2 separate regions of the Homo sapiens genome follow, and region 2 is linked to region 1. The links are contacts of gene promoters, found by promoter capture Hi-C in human tissues and cell types (Jung and others, 2019). All regions are on one chromosome and are shown on one strand. Each heading gives the region's core, a stretch centred on a gene start or on the middle of the fragment in contact. The rest is flanking DNA. Distances are from core to core; before and after follow the strand shown. Region 1 holds the start of RDH11 (retinol dehydrogenase 11). Region 2 has its middle 40 kb from the start of ZFP36L1.

What was found. Contacts are between HindIII fragments. The study calls those that stand out against the background at their distance.
Region 2: a contact is called between a fragment that was not itself captured here and the fragment with the promoter of RDH11 in region 1, in 1 of the 25 tissues and cell types used here (dorsolateral prefrontal cortex).

What each region holds. Positions count from the first base shown.
Region 1 is chr14:67,692,971-67,699,979 of GRCh38, forward strand. It overlaps RDH11 (retinol dehydrogenase 11), which reads right to left and starts at 2,794. Exons shown (of 7, transcript NM_016026.4): 1 at 2,660-2,794; 2 at 1-82. The coding sequence starts at 2,733. It also overlaps a transcript of GPHN not described here. RefSeq lists a silencer at 1,902-1,961 and enhancers at 2,311-2,947, 2,992-3,041, 3,062-3,111. The HindIII fragment of the contact is 4,554 bases long and covers 1,552-6,105 here.
Region 2 is chr14:68,829,367-68,836,589 of GRCh38, forward strand. No RefSeq gene overlaps it. Among named protein-coding and RNA genes, the nearest start is that of ZFP36L1, 40 kb to the left of the region's middle. The HindIII fragment of the contact is 4,582 bases long and covers 1,094-5,675 here.

The sequences.
Region 1 (7,009 bases), core at 1,544-4,043:
ACCTGTATTAGCTCCTGTGACCACAACTACTTTCCCAGGAAGCTGAACAGTTGATGTACACACCCCACTGGACAGCATTTTCCTGCAGACAGAGAAGGAGAGCTCATCAATTCTTCATTCTACTGTCTCAGCCAGTAGGTTCCTGCAACTCCCTGTGTCTTCTGGCTGAGGTTTGCTTTAGTTCTTTCCACTGTTGTCCTTTTAAGGAAACAGTGTCCATTTAAGGAAAGTTGGAGGAAAGATGACAAAAGTTTTCTGCTTTTGCTCAAAGACAAAAGTGATTCTATTACAAGGGCAAAGCTTACAGCTGTTCTCTGCAGCACAAGAACTGGATGAATACCTGCTTAGCCAGGCACCTGGCTTTGGTTTGAGCTCTCTAAGGCACTTGTGACTTAGGAAATCACAAGATTCAGCCCAGAAGAAGAAATAACTAGTTTCTGTAGGTCAATCTGTCCACAACTGGCATTTTATGGCCTTGAGAAATGGCTAATCCAATACAAAAAGTTAAAATTATGAAAGCTTGTGACTCTGGGACAAAATAAACAAGAAAAAAAAAACACACCCACACGCATGCACATACACACTTAAAACAAAGAGAAGATTATGTATGTACAAAGGGGAGCTGGGATTCAAGTCTTGCTTTGTGTAATTAGAGTCCTTGTTTCTTTCTTTCTCTTTCTCTTTTTTTTTTTTTTGAGACAGAGTTTTGCTCTTGTTGCCCAGGCTGGAGTGCAATGGTGTGATCTCGGCTCACTGCAACCTCCACCTCCACTGCAACCCCCATCTCCCAGGTTCAAGCGATTCTCATCCCTCACCCCCTCACCCATGCGCCACCACGCCCAGCTAATTTTTGTATTTTTAGTAGAGACAGGGTTTCACCACGCTGGCCAGGATGGTCTCGAACTCCTGACCTCAGGTGATCCGCCCACCTCAGCCTCCCAAAGTGCTGGGATTACAGGTGTGAGTCACCAAGCCCAGCCTAGAGTGCTTGTTTCTAAGTACTATACTATATTGCCTTTTCCAAATGAATGAATGCACAAACACAGATTGGTGGTTCTCAGACTGGCCTATTCTCTTCTTGGCAATGTTGGGACTCTGGTTAAAACAATCTGTTGACCAGGAGATGCATTCTTAAAGAGCATTTCAGCCTTTTTCATTGAACTTGGAATTGCAAGGTACATACTCTTAGCCATTGAAGCTACCTGCATAGTGCGAAAATGCTGACAGGGAGGCAGATTAACTCATGGTCCCCACAAACCATCACCTCCCTCCTCAGAAAACAAGCCTCTAGGCTGTTTCCCACATCCCCTTACTGTATGTAGCTCCAGGAGTGACAACTTAGTAGGACCTGTACTTAGTTCTTTCTTCTCCTTAACCAGCAGGAATGAAAGAGACAACTATAAAAGTCCAGCTCTGGCCCGACTCCCATAACCCTGCTGAGTTGGGAATACAGCTCCTGGAATATATATATATATATATATACACACACACACACATATATATATATACACACACACACATATATATATATATATACACACATATATTTTTTTTTTTTCCAGAAAAATCCCTCTGGGGTATGAGCACTATTTTCAGTTCTGGTTCAACTTTTCATTGAGATTCTATGTGGATAAGAGGATCTTGTAGTGAAAAAAAGATAAAAAGCAGTGTTTTCATCTGAGTGTGAGAAACCATGTGTGCCTAGAGGTGGGAGAACTGAGTGTTCAGAAGGCAGAAAAAATATAACTGGAAGAGGGGCACCAGAGAAGGAAGAGAAAATAAAAATAAAAGAAGGAAAGTAGGTGACTGTGGTAAGAAATGACTGTGATCTGGCCTGGCTTCAAGTTCTATTGGGACTAAGACCGCCCACCTGGGGAAGGAGTGTGTCTGTCTATTCAGTCACTGGTCCGTCACCACTGGTGATTTACTTAGAACCAATAAGCAGGCTGCCGGTTTTACAGCCCGCTGCTGATTCACTGGGGCACTTGGCCAGCCTTGGGCTGATTGATCTATCACCTGGTCAATACCTTCCCACCATTCTCCCAGCCCTCACCGCCCCAGTACCCTAGCTCCTAACTCAGATCCCCCGTGCTCCTGCTCGCAAGGCAGGATAGAGCTCATAACCAAACACTCTTCCTTTTCACTTTTCTCCTTTACAACATCCGCCCACAGAACAAGCGATTGTAACAGCAACGAGAGAGCAAGGATGGGGCCGCAGATGTTACGATTGCTATCAGTTTCAGAGGGCGAAATGTGGAATCGCTCCTTTGTACCTCGAAGGCTGGTTTAAGGCGTGGGGAATAAGGGGAAAACAGCGTCGGGCCATATCCCATTGAAGAGTCCGAAACTCAAGCGTTTGAGGTAGCCTTACCCTCGGGATTCCCTGGAGCCAGAATCAGGGGGTGCTTAGACAAAAGAAAAACAGGCCAGGGAAAAGCAGTGTGCCCCGGACTGCCGCCCTTTCTCACCGCCTGGGGTCTCGGGTGTCCTCCTGGCACCCAGGACAGCTGGACCTCGCCTCCAACCCACCGAACTCTGGGCTCCGCCATCTTGGAGCCCCCCCAGGGGAGTTTTCCAAGAAAGCTTTGGTGGGGATTCTATGTTTCCCTCCCGCCCCGCAACAAGAATTCTCAAGAGAAGGCAATACATTTGCACAGACCTGATTTGGGGCGCAGCCATATACAGAAGGAAGGGCAGAAGGAGGAGCAACAGCGGGAACATGAGCTCAACCATCTCTGCCGGCTGCAGCGGCACCAGAGCGGGATGCTCCAGCGTTGCTCGCCGACTATGGCTTCTCTTTCTAGACACGCCCCAATTCAAATTGCGACAGCCCGGGGAGCAGACCTTCTGGGAAATGTAGTCCAGAGCTTGACAGCCTCAGGCTGGCTACGTGGGAGCGCTGCCGCCAACGCTGGCAGAAGTTGAATTATACATCGCTAATCCCCAACCATCTAGGGCTTAGGGCCTGTGGGATCATTCACCCAGCTCTCAGTTATTTTTTCTGCCTTCTGAATACTCAGTTCTCCCACCTCTAGGCACACATGGTTTCTCACACTCAGATGAAAACACTGCTTTTTATCTTTTTTTCACTACAAGATCCTCTTATCCACATAGAATCTCAATGAAAAGTTGAACCAGAACTGAAAATAGTGCTCATACCCCAGAGGGATTTTTCTGGAAAAAAAAAAGTATACACTATAGGAATAGTACACTTATTCCTATAGTGTACTAGGCACCGCGGTGTTTGTGAAATCTCTGCAGTCCTCTATCTCCCCAGACCCAAGTCCAGTGCCTGGTTCAGTTTTCCCCAATCCTGGTTAGGCAGTTACCGCACTGTTTCTCCTGGAGATCAGATGTTGGCGTCTGGGAAATGAAAGGCGGATTAGACAGGAGAGGAGCGGTCCGAAGTCTGACAGTTGGGAAGGTGGGGGAATGTAAACCCTTCCTCCTCGAGGATTCCTTTTTCCAGAGAAGAGGAAGCAATAAGTCCTTGAAGACATTCTCAGGAGAATCACTTTATTGTGTCTATCTTGAATTATGGTGGCAACTATCATGATTTTTCTAGTGTTTGAGTGTTCATTGATAATAGAATATCGTCTTCCTGATGGCTTGGGTCACATACATTAACTCCCAGGGTAGCAATGAATATCTCAGATTGGCACAGTTGGTTTTGCCAACTCGTGAAAGTATTTAATCCTGTCTTGAATTAAGGCCATGAATATGTTCTCTGTGAATAAATAGGTTCCCTGTTCAATAGTTTCTTTCATCTGAGGCCTATTTCCTGGGGGTGAAAGTGGAGGGTGTTTTAACCAATCAATATCTGTCTGTGATTCCTTAATTGTACCCAGTAATATTTTCTGGTCCTTTTGCATAATTTCCATTTGGTTAAAAGACACGGGTTCCAATGAACTAATATATTTTATAGCAAATTGGAGAAGAGAGGGTTTCCTTCACACAATACTAATTCCTACCAATTTAACATTAGATTACCTAGCAATCATCACATTTTGTCACATTCTCATTATTGTGTTACCTAATATTTGTATTGGGTTTTATAACTTTATAAAAGCCTTTCATTTGTTTTGTTCCTTATTCAGTCATTCACGCATTTGACAAACATTTATGGCATTCCTATAGTGTACTAGGCACTGTGCTGATGTCCAGCAGGAAGCCAGGAACACATAATCTCTGCTCGCCCGGAGTTCATGGACTGTCAGAGAAGACCTTAAATAAGTAATCACTGTAAATAAATCATGGTGAAGGTTATGAGGAGGATTAGAGAAAGCTCTGGGAGCTTTTACAAGGGAGAGGAGTTCTAGATCAGGAGAGGCTTATTTGAGGAAATAACATTTGAGCGGAGGCCAGAGGGAAGTTAGTAGGCAAGCAACATAGACAAGAGTGTGCTGAGCAGAGGAAAGACCCCACCTGAGGGTTCACAGTCAGAGAAAGCAGGGTGCACTAGAGCAACAGAAAACCGTCTAGGGAGAAGGGAGAGTGCCAGAAATGGCAATAATAGCCAGTGCTTAAATACTGCTTAATTATGGCCAGGCCCTGTCCCAATGATTTATATATATATATTAACTCTTAATTCCCATAACAACTCTAAGAGGTAGGTACTATAATTTTCCCTATTTTACAGACAAGAAAACTGAGGCACCGTGTAAGCTAGCCTAGGTCAAAGAGGCAGAGCTGGGATTCAAACTGAAGCAGGTGGTGTTCCATGAGAGGGCCCTATATGCAAAGTGGCCCCCAAATGCCAGAGGAGCCAAGACACCAAAGGTTGAGGCAGACAAATCCAGTTTCTTGGTAAGGGTGTTTTACTGTGGGAATTTACAGACAGAAATGTGGGCTTGGGTGGCAGATTTCTGTACATGTAAGCTCCACACTCAGAGTTTATATACTGTAGGGAAAGAGTCAAACTGCTCTGTGCAAGACAATTAAAGGTAGCCCTCCAGAACAGGCAAGAATGCTACATGTGTAATAGATAATAATTTGTGCAATAACATCAAGGTTGACATGTTCTTACACTAGGGACAGTAAATAAAGTAGGAATCAGGAGATATTCACAGGACTGGGGCTAATCAACATTGCAGTCAACATTGAAGTCAGCATTGCAGATTAGCATCCCAGATGCAGTCACTTTTGTCCACCAAGTTGTATGCAGGGTCTATTGTGCCCTTAACTATTGAGCTATATTGCCAAAAGATGAAGCTGGAAATTTCTCCCCATACTTGTGTGTATTTGCATATCCATATAAAATTTGCATATAATTTCAGGTGGTTTATAGACACATTGGAGCCATAATGGAATCTAGATTAAAAACCATTGATTATCTCTACTAAAAAATTAGCTAGGCATGGTGGTACACATCTGTAGTCCCAGCTCTTTGGGAGGCTGAGGTGGGAGGATTGTTTGAGTCAGGAGTTGGAGGCTGCAGTGAGCTAGAATTGTGCCACTGCACTCCACCCTGGGTGGCAGAGCAAAAACCTATCTAAAAGCAGAGGGAAGCTTTGAGGAACCCTAACATTATGAAATGGGTAGAGGGAGGGGAGCCCAAAAATTGACTGAGAAACGGCCAGAGAGGTTGGAGATGTATCAGACAGGGTTCAATCAGAAGTGAGAAACTACACAACAATTTGAACAGGGAAAGTTTAACATAAAAAAATTATTAACTATAATGGGATTGGAATAATGAGGGACTGGATAGTATAGGAGCTGTTATACTTCTCCTGAAAAGAAAAATAAATATTTTATGCTCTGAGGAGGATTTGGTCTCTGTTGCAGCTACTCGACTCTGCTGTTGTAAATGTGAAAGCAGCCATAGATAATATTTGAACAAATGTGTTCAAATGTTACTGTGTTTACTGTTCAAATGTTACTGTGTTCCAATGAAACTTTATTTACAAAAACAAACAGTGGGCTGCATTTGGCCTGTGGGTCATGGTTTGCCAACCTGTGTGCTAGTAAGAAGAAAAGAGAACTCTAAAGAAGATAAAAGGGCCAGGCATGTTGGCTCATGCCTGTAATCCCAGCACTTTGGGAGGCCGAAATGGATGGATCACCTGAGGTCAGGAGTTTGAGACCAGCCTGCCCAACATGATGAAACCCCATCTCTACTAAAAATACAAAAAAATTAGCTGGGCATGGTGGCAGGCACCTGTAATCCCAGCTACTTGGGAGGCTGAGGCAGGAGAATCACTTGAACCCGGGAGGCAGAGGTTTCAATGAGCCAAGTTCGCGCCATTGCACTACAGCCTGGGCGACAAGAGCGAGACTCTATCTCAGAAAAAAAAAAAAGATAAAAGGCTGGATGTGGTGGCTCATCCCTGTAATCCCAACACTGGAAGGCCAAGGCGGGAGGATCACTTGAGCCCAGAAGTTCGAGACCAGCCTGGGAAACCTAATGAGTCCCTGTCTCAACCAAAAATTTAAAAAATAAATGAATAAATAAACAAAAAATAAATAAATAAAATAGGCAGTGTACTGGTGTGTGCCTTTGGTCCCAGCTACTCCGGAGGTTCAGGTGGGAGGATTTCTTGAGCCTCACAGGTTGAGGCTGCAGTGAGCTGTGATTGTGCCACTGCACTCCAACCTGGAAGACAGAGCAAGACCCTATCTCAAAAAAAAAAAAAAAAAAAAAAAGAAACAGAGAGAGAAAGAAAGAAAGTTATGTGGATGTAAAAAATCTTCACCTTTTTAAAGCTTTTTTTTTTAAAGTGATCAAAACACAGTAAGTCACAGGAATTACCTTGATAAAACATTAAGAAAAATTTTAGGATAGTTACTAAAAAGTAAAGAAAAACCTTTTGTAATATGATTGTTTTTCTTTATTGGAACTCTATTTAGATAACCTGGAAGACAAACTCAATGAAAAGAATACTTGGATTTAGGCTGGGCGCGGTGGCTCACGCCTGTACTTCCAGCACTTTGGGAGGCCGAGGTGGGCGGATCATGAGGTCAAGACATCGAGACCATCCTGGCCAACATGGTGAAACCCCGTCTCTACTAA
Region 2 (7,223 bases), core at 2,135-4,634, 1.1 Mb after region 1:
AGTTGAAAGCTTTCCCTCTATGATCAGGAACAAGGAAAGGATGCCTGCTTTCACCACTTCTATTCCACATAGTACTGGAAGTTCTCACTACAGCAAGTCAATCTACAGATTCAATGCAAGCCCTATCAAATCCCAATGACTTTTTTTTTTGCAGAAAAGAAAAACTCATCCTAAAATTTATATTGAATTTCATGGTTCCCTAAGTAGCCAAAATGATCTTGAAAAAGAAGAACAAAGCTGGCCGGGCACGGTGGCTCACACCTGTAATCCCAGCACTTTGGGAGGCCGAGGTGGGTGGATCACGAGGTCAGGAGATCGAGACCATCCTGGCTAACACGGTGAAACCCCGTCTCTACTAAAAATACAAAAAATTAGCCGGGCCTGGTGGCGGGCGCCTGTAGTCCCAGCTACTTGGGAGGCTGAGGCAGAAGAATGGCGTGAACCCGGGAGGCGGAGCTTGCAGTGAGCCAAGATCGCGCCCCTGTGCTCCAGCCTGGGCGACAGAGAGACTCTGTCTCAAAAAAAAAGAAAAAGAAAAAGAACGAAGCTAAAGGACTCACTTTTCCTGATTTCAAAACAAAGCTACAGTATTCAAAACAATGTGGAACTGGCATAAAGACAGACATATAAACCAATGAAGTAGAAGACAGAGCCCAGAAACAAACCCTCACATATATGGTCAAATGATTTTTTTCCTTTACACATTTTATTTTATTTTAAGGTATGTTTATTTTTTATTGATACATAATAGATGTACATATTTTCAGGGTACATGTAATAATTTAATACATTCATATCATGTGTAAATATCAAATCAGGATAATTGAGATATCTGTCCCTTGAATATCTGTCTTTTCTTTATACTGGAAACATTCAAGTTATTCCCTTCTAGCTATTTTGAAATACATAATAGGTTATTGCAAACTATTGTCACCCTACAGATCTATAGAACAATAGATCTTACTTTTTCTGACTGTATATTTGTACCCATTAATCAACCTCTCTTCATCCCCTCACTCCCCTCTCCTTCCCAGCCTCTGAAAACCACAAATTTACTCTCTGTCTTCAAGAGATCCAAGTTTTTAGCTCCCACATATGAGTGAGAACATGCAATATTTGTCTTTCTGCACTTGGCTTATTTCACTTAACATGGTGACATCCACTTGCATCCATGTTGCTACAAATGACATAATTTTATTTTATTATGGTTGAATAATACTTCATTGGGTATATATACCACATCTTCTCTATCTATTCATCCATTGATGGACACTTAGGTTGATTCCATTTTTTGGCTATTGTGAATAGTGCTGTGATAAATACAGGAGTGCAGATATCTCTTTGATATATTGATTTCTTTTCTTTTGGATATATACCCAGTAGTGGATTGCTGGATCAAATGGTGGTTCTCTTTTTAGTTTTTTGTGCTAAAAATAGCTCAAAAAGTGCTATTGATAGTGGTTGTACTAATTTACATTCCCACCAACAGTCTATGAGGGTTCCCCTTTCTCCATATCCTCAGCAGCATCCCTTTTTGATAAAAGCCATTTTAAGTGGAGTGAGATGATCTCACTGTTGTTTTGATTTGTATTTCTTTTTTCTTTTTCTTTTTCTTTTTCTTTTCTTTTTTTTTTTTTTTTTGAGACAGAGTCTTGCTCTGTCACCCAGGCTGGAGTGCAGTGGCACGATCTCGGCTCACCGCAACCTCCGCCTCCCGGGTTCATGCCATTCTCCTGCCTCAGCCTCCCGAGTAGCTGGTACTACAGGCGCCCGCCACCACGCCCAACTAATTTTTTGTGTTTTTAGTAGAGACGGGGTTTCACTGTGTTAGCCAGGATGGTCTCGATCTCCTGACCTCGTTGATCCGCTCACCTTGGCCTCCCAAAGTGCTGGGATTACAGGCGTGAGCCACCTCGCCCAGGCTTGATTTGTATTTCTTTGATGATTAGTGATGTGGAGCATTTTTTCATACACCATTTGTGTGTCTTCTTTTGAGAAATGTCTGTTCAGATGTTTTGCCCATTTTTAAATCAGATTTTTTTTTTGCTATTAAGTTGTTTGAACTCCTTATATATTCAGTTATTAATCCCTTGTTGGATGAGTAGTTTGCAAATATTTTCTCTCATTCTGGGGGTTACCTCTTTACTTTGTTGATTGTTTCTTTTGCTGTGCAGAAGCTTTTTAGCTAGCTGTAATCCTCTTTGTCTATTTTTGCTTTTATTGCCCGTGCTTTTGAGTCTTACACAAAAAATCTTTGTCCTGGAGTGTTTCCCAATGTTTTCTTCTAGTAGTTTCATAGTTTCAGGTCATAGACTTAAGTAATTAATCCATTTTTATATATGGTAAGAAATAGGGGTCTAGTTTTATTATTTTGCATATGGTTATCCAGTTTCCCCAGCACCATTTATTGAAAAGACTCTTCTTTCTCCAGTGTATATTCATGGCATCTTCATTGAAAATTAGTTGGCTATAAATGAATGGATTTTATATCTGAGTTCTCTGTTGTGTTCCCATTGATCTGTGTATCTGTTTTATGGCAGTACCATGCTGATTTGGTTATTACAACCTTGTAGTATATTTTGAAATCACATAATGGGATGTGATGCCACCAGCTTTGTGCTTTTTGCTCAGTATTGCTTTGGCTATTTGGGGTCTTTTGTGGTTCCATATAAATTTTAGGGTTTTTTTTTTTCCTATTACTGTGAATAATATCATTAGTATTTTGAAAGGGCTTGTGTTCAAGCTATAAATTGCTTTGGGTAATATTGCCATTTTAACAATGTTAATTCTTCCAATCCATGAGCAGGGACTATCTTTTCCTTTTTCGTATGTCGTCTTCAATTTCCTTTGTCAAAATTTTATGGTTTTCCTTGTATAGATCTTTCACGTCTTTGGTTAAATTGATTCCTAGGGGCCAGGCACGGTGGCTCATGCTTTTAATCCCAGCACTTTGGGAGGCTGAGGTGTGTGGATCACGAGGTCAGGAGTTTGAGACCAGCCTGGCCAATATGGTGAAACTGCATCTCTACTAAAAATACAAACAACAACAAAAAATTAGCCGGGCATGGTGGCATGTGCCTGTAGTCCCAGCTACTCAGGAGGCTGAGGCAGAAGAATCGCTTGAACCTGGGAGGCTTGCAGTGAGCCAAGATTGAGCCACTGCACTCCAGCCTGGGTGACAGAGCAAGACTCTGTCTCAAAAGAAAAAAAAAAAAATTGATTCCTCGGTATTTTATATTCTTTGTAGCTATTATAAATGGCATTGCTTTCTTGATTTCTTTTGCAGATTGTTTGCTGTTGATGTATGTAAATGCTGATTTTTGTACATTGATTTTGCAACTTTACTGAATTCGTTTATCAGTTCTAACAGTTTTTTGGTGGAATCTATAGATTTTTCTAAGTATAAAATTATGTCATCTGTGAACAAAGCTAATGTGATTTCTTTCATTCCAATTGGATGCCCTTTATTTCTTTCTCTTTCCTACTTGCTCCGGCCAGTACTTCCAATATTATGTTGATTAAAAGGTTGAGAGTGGGCATTCTCGTCATGTTTCACATCTTAAAGAAAAGGCTTTCCATTTTTCCCTGTTCAGTATGATGTTAGCTGACAGTTTGTCAGATATGGCCTGTATTATTTTGAGATATGCTCCTTCTCTACCCAATTTGTTGAGAGTTTTCATCATAAAGGGATGTTGAATTTTATTGAATACTTTTTCAGCCTTGATTGAAATGGTCTTATGGTTCTGTTAATGTGATGTATCACATTTATTGATTTGCAAATGTTGAACCATCCTTATGTCTCTAGGATGAATCCCACTTGGTCATGGCAAATGGTTTTTTTTTGAGACAGAGCCTCACTCTGTCCCCAGGCTGGAGTGCAGTGGCACAATCTCGGCTCACTGCAACCTCTGCGTCCCAGATTCAAGCGATTCTCCTGCCTCAGCCTCCCGAGTAGCTGGGACTACAGGCATGTGCCACTATGCCTAGTTAATTTTTGTATTTGTAGTAGAGATGGGGTTTCACCATGTTGGCCAGGATGGTCTCGATCTCCTGACCTCATGACCCGCCTCCCTCAGCCTCCCAAAATGCTGGGATTACAGGCGTGAGCCACTGTGCCCAGCCGCCAAATGGTCTTTTTAATGTGTTATTGAATTCAGTTTGCTAGTATTTTGTTGAGGGGTTTTGCATCTATTTTTATCAGTGATATTAGCCTGTTGTTTCTTTTCTTGTCATGTCCTTGTCTAGTTTTGGTATCAGGGTAATGACGACCTTGTAGAACAAGTTTGGAAGTATTCCCTATTCTTCAGTTTTATTGAAGAGTTTGCATGGAATTGGTATTAATTCTTGTTTAAATGTTTGGTAGAATTCAGCAGTGAAGGTATCATGTCCTGGGCTTTTCTTGATGGGAGACTCTTTGTTACAGCTTCAATTTCATTAGTCATTATTGGCTTGTTCAGGTTTTCTATTTTCTTCATAGTTCAGTCTTGATATTCATATGAACAATATTCATAGTTCAGTCTTGATAAGTGTATATGTTCAGGAATTTATCCATTTCTTCTAGGTTTTCCAGTTTGTTGGCATGTAGTTGTTTATAATAGTCTCTAATGATTCTTTGAACTTCTGTAGTCTCACTTATGTCTCCTTTTCAGTTTCTGATCTTGTTTACTTGGGTCTTTTCTCTTTTTTTCTTAGATAGTCTAGCTAAATGTTTGTTGATTTTATTTTTTCAAAAGAACCAACTTTTTGTTTCATTGATCTTCTGTATTTTTTAAATCTCAATTTCATTTATTTCTGCTCTAATCTTTAGTATTTATTTCCTTCTACTAATTTAGGGTTTGGTTTGTTATTGCTTTTCTAGTTTCCTGAGGTGCATCATTAGGTTATTTATTTGAAATCTTTCTGCTTTTTTGATATAGTTGTTTGTTGTATAAACTTCCTTCTTAGTATTGCCTTTGATGTATCCCCCAGATTATGGTATATTTCCTTTTAATTTGTTTTGAGAGACTTTTTACATTTTTTTTCTTAATTTATTCATTGTCCCATTCATCATTCAGGAGCATGTTGCTTAGTTTCCATGTATTTGTGTAGTTTCTGAGGTTCTTCTTGTTATTGATTTCTTGTTTTATTCCATTGTAGCCAGAAAGGATACTTGATATTATTTCTTCTTTTCTGAATTTGTTGAGACTTGTTTTGTGGCCTAAGACATGGTCTACTCTGGAGAATGTTCCATATGCTGATGAAAAGAATGTGTATTCTGCAGCAGTTGGGTGAAATATTCTGTAAATATTAGTTAGGTCTACTTTGTCTAGTGTGTAGTTTAATGTTTCTTTATTGATATTCTGCATGGATGTTCTGTGCATTACTGAGAGTAGAGTGTTGACATTCCCTACTATTATTATATTGTAGTCTATCTCTCCCTTTAGATAGATTTATGTTTGATTTATATATTTGGGAGCTCTAACGTTAGGTGCATAGATATTTATAATTGTTGTATCATCTTGCTGAATCGACCCCTTTATCATCATATAGTGACCTTCTTTGTCTCTTTTTACAGTCTTTGACTTGTAGTCTATTTTATCTGGTATAAACATATCTACTTCCCTTTTTTGGTTTCCAGTTGCGTACTATATCTTATTTTAACTGGACACACTTCCAGTCTATGTGTATCTTTTTTTTTTTTTTTTTTTTTTAGACAGAGTCTTGCTCTGTCAGCCAGGCTGCAGTGACATAATCTCGGCTCACTGAAATCTATGCCTCCCAGGCTCAAGCAATTCCCCTGCCTCAGCCTCCCGAGTAGCTGGGATTACGGGCATGTGCCACCATGCCTGGCTAATTTTTGTGTTTTTAGTAGAGACGGGGTCACCATGTTGGCCAGGCTGGTCTCGAACTCCTGACCTCAGGTAATCCGCCCACCTTGGCCTCCCAAAGTGCTGGGATTACAGGTATGAGCCACCGTGCCCAGCCCAGTCTATGTGTATCTCAAAAAAAAAAAAAAAAAAAAAAAGGTATCATTCTGTCTTCTAAGCTGGAGTGCAGTGATACGATCATAGCTCACAGCAGCCTCAATCTCCTGGGCTCTATGTGTGTCTTTATAGGTGAAATGGGTTTTTTTGTAGGCAACATATAGTTGGGTCTTGTTTCTTTATCCATTTAGCCATTCTATGCCTTTTAATTGGAGAATTTAATTCATTTACATTCAGTGTTATTTTGATAAGTAAGAACTTACCACTACCATTTTGTTGCTTGTTTTTTGGTTGTTTTGTAACTCCTCTCTTCCTTTCTCTCTTTCTTACTGTCTTCCTTTGTGGTTAAGTGGTTTTCTCTGGCAGTATGTTTTAATTCATTGCTTTTTATTTGCAGTGACTCTATTATAGGTTTTTGCATTGTGGTTACTATGAGGCTTACAGAAAACATCTTATAAATATAACAAGTCATTTTACAGAGGTGGCAACTTATCACAAAGTTCTAGATCACAAAGAAAATAATAGAAACAAAAATGAAAAAAATTCTACACTTGAACTCCATCCTCCTCACATTTTGTCTTTTTATTGTCTCAATTTACATATTTTTATACTGCCTATCTCTTAGTAGGCTGCTGTAGCTATATTGTTTTTGATAGATTTGCTCTTTAGGTTTCATACTAGAGTTATGCATGAATTGCACACCACATTTACAATATTAGAATATTCTGGGTTTGTCCATGTATTTAATTTTACCAGTGGATTTTATACCTTCAAGTGTTTTCTTTTTGCATGTTCGTGGGGTGGTTTTTTTCCTTCTGGTTGAAGAACTCTCTTTAGCATTCCTTGTAAGATGAGTCTGGTGGTGGTGAATTCTCTGCTTTTGTTTGTCTGAAAAAGATTACATCTCTCCTTAATATTTGAAGGACAACTTTGCTGGATACAGTATTCCTGGATGGCAGGGTTATTTTGTTTTGTTTTGTTTTTTCCAGCACTTTGAAAATGTCATCCTACTCCCTCCTGGCCAATGTGGTTTCCATTGAGCAGTCTATTGCCAGACAAACTGATGCTCCTTTATATGTTATTTGCTTTTCTCTTGCTGCTTTTAGGATCCTTTATTTATCTTAGACTTTTGAGAGAAAATTATTTTATGCCTTGGGGTGCTCTTATTTCGGTAGAATCTGTTTGATGTTCTCTGACCTTCCTGTACTGGATATTCATATATTTCTCAAGTTTTGGAAAGTTTTCTGGTATTATTTCTTT